Regions from separate parts of the Homo sapiens genome. Here region 2 is linked to region 1. The links are contacts of gene promoters, found by promoter capture Hi-C in blood cells and fetal thymus (Javierre and others, 2016). All regions are on one chromosome and are shown on one strand. Each heading gives the region's core, a stretch centred on a gene start or on the middle of the fragment in contact. The rest is flanking DNA. Distances are from core to core; before and after follow the strand shown.

Region 1 (3,020 bases), core at 281-2,780:
TGCAGGACGTGGACCCACTGTCTGTGTTGATGTGTTAGCAACACGCTGCGTTGACATGACTCGTGGAACCTGTGAAGAAGCTGGTCTCATAGTACTAAATGGTACTCTAGGAGCACCTGGGCGGATAGCACTGGGCTTATTTTGGAATGGATGAGGTCTGGCACCCTGAGCAGTCCAGCGAGGACTTGGTCTTAGTCGAGCAATTTGGCTAGGAGGATAGTATGCAGCATGGTTCTGAGTCTGTGGGACAGCTGTCATGAAGTAACCTGAAGGAGGTGCTCGCTGGTTGGGCACAGCTCGTACACTTGCCATTCTCTGCATATACTCGTTAGTGAGGTAAGCCTGGCGCTCTTCTTTGCGCTGAGCTAAAGCTACATACAATGGCTTTGTGGCCACAATTCTACCGTTCATTTCTGTAACTGCTTTAGTGGCTTCTTCTGGGGAGGAGAAACATACAAAACCAAACCCTTTGCTGCGACCACCTTCCATCATAACCTTTGCACTAGTGATTGTACCAAATGGAGAAAACGCTTTCCGGAGACGTTCATCATCAATACCATCATCAAGATTTTTCACATAAAGATTAACAACCTGGTATCTGGTGATCCTATCTTGCTTCATCTGTTCAAATGTGCGCTTAAGTTCCGTCTGCCGTTCCACTTTTTTCTGAGCTCGACCAACGTAAATTTGTTTTCCATTGAGCTCCTTTCCATTCATCTCATCTACAGCTTTCTGTGCATCTTCATGCCTTTCAAAGCTTACAAATCCAAATCCTTTGGATTTTCCACTTTCATCGGTCATTACTTTCACACTTAAGGCGGGCCCGAACTTGCCAAAGAGATCCTTAAGGCGCTCATCATCCATGTCTTCTCCAAAATTCTTGATGTAAACATTGGGGAACTCTTTTGCCCTAGCTCCAAGTTCAGCTTCTCGTTCTTTACGAGACTTAAATTGTCCAACAAATACTTTGCGACCATTTAGGAGCATTCCGTTCATTTTTTTAATAGCTCTTTCAGCTGCTTCGTGTGTCTCAAAGTGTACAAATCCATAACCCTTGGAACCATTTTCATCACAAACCACGTTACACGAAAGGATGTTACCAAAAGCAGAAACTGTATCATACAGTGCTTTATTATTAATGGACTTATCCAGATTTTTAACGAATATGTTGCCCACTCCACTTTTTCGAAGTGATGGATCACGCTGAGACCACATGATGCGTACTGGCTTGCCCTTTATAACATCAAAATTCATGGTGTCCAGAGCATGCTCCGCGTCCTTCGTATGCTGGAAGTTCACATACGCGTAGTTGGAGGAGCCGCTGGTGATCAAGTCCCTGCAGATCCGGATGGAGAGGATGGGCCCTGCCGGGCTGAACTTCTCGTAGAGCATCGCCTCAGTCACGTCGGGGTGGAGGTCCCCCACGTAGAGCGAGGCCGTTGGGTAGCTGGGGGTGCTGGGGTTCATTCTCGGCACGGCTGCCCGCAGGCACACAAGCCGCGACCTTTCCGTTACAGGAGTAGAGCGCGTGCCGGGGCCGGGGGCGTAGCCGGAGGGAGGGGAGCGGGGGCAAGCGCAGAGGGACAAAAATCAGCCGAAATCGAAAACTACTCAACGGCCGCAGAACGGGGTCGATCCGCTGCCGCTGGCTGCCGGCTGCCGGCGGGGAGCCAGGGTAGCGGTGTCGGGTCCGGGCAGCAGGAAGGCCTTGGTCTCTTAGTTCCTTCTTGGAGCTGCTGCGGGGCCGCTGGCGGGCGGCTCGGGCTCAGCTGCTTCACCGGGTTATTTTGTAAAAGAGCATTAATGATTTTTCTAAAATGATTTTTATAATCCAAATTTAAAATGCCTGGGAAAAAAATAAATGAAAGAATTTTTTTCTCCTTTCTCCTTTAGTATGTTTTTATATATGTTCTACTTTACACAAATATATTTTTATAAAATATTTTCTACTTTTTACCTCGTCTCTACTAAAATTACAAAAAATTAGCTGGGCTTGATGTGCTCACCTGTAATCCCAGCTACTCGGGAGGCCTAGGCACGAGAATCGCTTGAACCCGGGAGGTGGAGGTTGCAGTGAGCAGAGATCGCGCCACTGCCCTCTAGTCTGGGTGACAGAGCGAGACTATCTCAAACAAACAAACAAACAAACAAAAAACCCCGAAAAACCGACTTTTTATATTATATAACAATATAAAACATAATAAATATGTAATTTTATTTTTCATTTATTTATTTTTATTTTACTTATTTATTTTTGAGACGGAGTTTTGCTCTGTCACCCAGGCTGGAGTGCAGTGGTGCGATCTCGGCTCACTGCAACCTCCACCTCCCAGGTTCAAGCGATTCTCCTGCCTCAGCTTCTAAAGTAGCTGGGATTACAGGCACCCACCACCAAGCCTGGCTAATTTTTTGTATTTTTAGTAGAGACGGGGTTTCACCATCTTGGCCAGGCTGATCTTGAACTCCTGACCTCGTGATCCACCCACCTCGGCCTCCCAAAGTGCTGGGATTACAGGCGTAAGCCACCGTGCCCGACCAATAAATATGTAATGTTAATATAGTATTATATGATATAGTCTTTTGAGGTCAGGTTGGGATTCATTATTAAGTATACGTTTTATGATTATAAGTACACAATCTTGTGACCTAATATAGCTACACATCTAAGTAAGTGATGATCTGAAATAATTCTATTTAAGAAAATCCTTTAAGAAAGGTCCAGTCCCACAAAAAATATCAGTTTGGGGGAGGATCTGTTCATTCTGTTCATGTTACAAATAATTTATTTTAGGGTTTTTTGTTTGTTTGTTTGTTTAGATAGAGTCTCGTTCTGTCACCCAGGCTGTAGTGCAGTGGTGCGATCTTGGTTCACCGCAACCTCCACCTCCCGGGTTCAAGGGATTCTAGCGCCTCAGCCTCCCGAATAGCTGGGATTACAGGCAGGCACTACCACGCCTGGCTAATTTTTGTATTGTTTTTAGTAGAAACGGGGTTTCGCCTTGTTGGCTAGGCTGGTCTAG
Region 2 (3,020 bases), core at 239-2,738, 330 kb after region 1:
TCATTTTAAAAGGTTGTGTTCTAGAACTTTATTCCGTAATTTTAATTTCATTCAAAAATGGAAATTTTCTACGTAACGGTAGCAGTGATCTAAACCCCAAGTAGGAGAAACTTGGTTCTCCACTGAAATCACAACTTTTTCTGCAGAGGCTCACATCTCACAGAGTCCATCTTGCCAAGACTGAGAAAACTGATCGAATGACCTTAACTTTGAAAGTATAAACATTAAACAGTTACGCCAGGTAATACGAATTTTCAGTAGCTCCAGGAATTGAGATTCAACAACTCAGCTGTATTAAGAGCACACTAAGGTATTTTAAGTTACATTAAAATAACTTGAACCGGCCGGGCGCGGTGGCTCACGCCTGTAATCCCAGCACTTTGGGAGGCCAAGACGGGCGGATCACGAGGTCAGGAGATCGAGACCATCCTGGCTAACACGGTGAAACCCTGTCTCTACTAAATATACAAAAAATTAGCCGGGCGTGGTGGCGGGCGCCTGTAGTCCCAGCTACTCCAGAGGCTGAGACAGGAGAATGGCGTGAACCTGGGAGGCGGAGCTTGCAGTGAGCCGAGATCGCGCCACTGCACTCCAGCCTGGGCTACAGAGCGAGACTCCAACTCAAAGAAAAAAATAATAATAAATAACTTGAACCTGTGATCACTTGAGTAGATTGTAGGTGAACAGACCAATAATAGTGCAGTGTATTTTTCCCCTCACGTATAAAGACCAACACACACACACACACACACACACACACACACACACCCCACAAGGTGCACAAAAGAAACTATCATTTTCCAAACAGTGTTTTAGGCCAGTGTGAGCCATAATGTAAAAAACAAACAAAAAAACCCCCACAGAAACAACAAAATGCTAACAACAACAACAAAATCCAAAACCATTTCACAATGGTCTACTTGTTACTCCTACAACAAAAACTACAGGAGAAAATCAAGTTTCGTTCCTTCTTGATGACAAAACAATGGGCTACATTTTATGTCTACTTTTGCATGCACCCGCTAACCTGCCTTGTGAGGAGTAGATTAAAGCCACCCGGGCCCCCATCCTCCCGGCTGGAGGGTCGGTGAGGCCTGGATGGGTAATTGGAGAAAGCCGTGACAGGCGCAGGTGCTGCCCTTAACCAACCCAAGCACTGCCCTCTTAGAGGTCGGGTGCAGCTCGCGGGAGGCCTGTGACGCAGTTTCTGGTGACACCAGGATTGGATGCAGCTGACCAAGCCTCACGCGCCCACCAGCTCACCTGGCCCCCAGCGCTCCCTCCAGGCTGCCTCCCCGCTAGGTGGGCCCTTGGGCTCCTCACCGGATGATCTGGATACCCTCCTTCCACACCTGGTGCACTGGATTTCAGCGGCACCCCAGGGCTGACTCTTCCTCCCCATTCGCTGGTAGGAAGACCTAGAAGGCCCAGTCTTCGAAGCCTCTGCCGCCATCGCTGTCTCTTTCTTCTGGAACAACCGCCGAGTGCGAGTCCCGGCGGCCCTCGCGGCAGCGACCAATCATTGGAGGCCAGCCCCTGCAGATAGCCAAACAGTGGGCCGGGAGATTAAAGCCCGCCCCCAAGCTCGCTCCTGATGGGGCTGGGGCTGTTTTCCGTTATCCTGGGAGGTACCACTCCTAGAAGGGGCGCCTTGTGGCCGTTGAGGACCGTTCGTTTTTACGTTCTACCCAAAGAGTCACCACTTTAGTGCTTTTAGTCATCACAAATTAAAATTTCGCATATTATTACTTACATTGTGAGTGACTTTATAGATAATCATTTGGATTGAAACAATCCCCTTTCCCTATTACGTGTCAGGGCCAGAAGCCCTAAACCTGTGTGCTTCGGGCATCCAGGGCTTGGCCAATAGCAGCTGGAGTGGAGAAGCTAATGAGAAGCTATCGTTGGGGTAGATTCAGTGAACGCTTTCGAATTAAGGAGTGTTCATCATTACTAACTGCTGTTGAGCCTAATAATATACAAGGCAGCGTGCCAAGAGTGGTTGGGGATGCTAAGAATTTATGAACTAGCAGGTTTCTGCTTGAGAGATACATAACTCCTTAAAAAAACCCAGTAACTTCCGCCAAAATAAGTGTTATGTACCGGACCTGTGTTAGAGACAGTAAGAATTAGCCTTCTGGGCCCGGCGCGGTGGCTCACGCCTGTAATGCCAGCACTTTGGGAGGCCAGGGCGGGCAGATCACGAGGTCAGGAGATCGAGACCATCCTGGCTAACATGGTGAAACCCTGTCTCTACTAAAAATACAAAAAAAAAAAAAAAAAAAAATTAGCCGGACGTGGCGGTGGGCGCCTGTAGTTCCAGCTACTTGGGAGGCTGAGGCAGGAGAATGGCGTGAACCTGGGAGGCGGAGCTTGCAGTGAGCCGAGATCATACCACTGCACTCCAGTCTGGGCGACAGAGCGAGACTGCGTCTCAAAAAAAAAAAAAAAAGAGTTGAAGCAACTTGTCCAAGCATAGTTCACAAAAAGCAATGAAGAAATGAAGTCAATATGGTCTACGGTGGTATGAAAACTCTTCGTAGAGGATATAGGGTTTGCACTAGACCTTACAACCTAGGTAGTACTTACAGGAGTAAACAAGAACTAAGGGATTCCAAGAATAAAGAACACATCAGCGAGGGAAGGTAGATGTGAGGGAAGGTAGATGGAAGACACAGTGACTTCTTGAGAATTTAAAGACCATTTAGCCAGAGTATGAGTTTCCTTAAAGTAAGCTTCTTTGGAGAGGTGTGTCAGGGAAGAATTTCGGAGAATCTCGAGTGTAAGGCTGAGGAGTTTGGACTTTACTCTTTAAGCAGTAGAGTGCATGAGACGTTTTGTGAGCAAGGAATGAAGTAATCTAGTAGAAAGGTGGCAGGTGTATTTCAAACAAAACACCTGGAGGTGGCACGGTTGCCTTTTGCTGCTAAGAATAAAGCCTGCCCATATTCCTCATTTTCTTTTCTCTCTACACTGTGTGTGGGTAACTAGAAACTGTGAAGTAAGTATTCTCTTGAAAG

What was found. The method cuts DNA at HindIII sites, captures the fragments that hold promoters and counts their contacts. A CHiCAGO score of 5 or more calls a contact.
Region 2: a contact is called between the fragment with the promoter of RNF17 here and the fragment with the promoter of PABPC3 in region 1, in 6 of 17 cell types (erythroblasts, M0 macrophages, M1 macrophages and 3 more). The highest score is 7.6, in erythroblasts.

What each region holds. Positions count from the first base shown.
Region 1 is chr13:25,094,646-25,097,665 of GRCh38, reverse strand. It overlaps PABPC3 (poly(A) binding protein cytoplasmic 3), which reads right to left and starts at 1,530. Exons shown (of 1, transcript NM_030979.3): 1 at 1-1,530. The coding sequence starts at 1,467. It overlaps LOC124900613 (a long non-coding RNA gene), which reads right to left and starts at 2,046. Exons shown (of 3, transcript XR_941762.3): 1 at 2,007-2,046. RefSeq lists a silencer at 1,321-1,615. The HindIII fragment of the contact is 7,788 bases long and covers 760-3,020 here.
Region 2 is chr13:24,762,637-24,765,656 of GRCh38, reverse strand. It overlaps RNF17 (ring finger protein 17), which reads right to left and starts at 1,488. Exons shown (of 36, transcript NM_031277.3): 1 at 1,324-1,488. The coding sequence starts at 1,453. The HindIII fragment of the contact is 5,895 bases long and covers 1-2,737 here.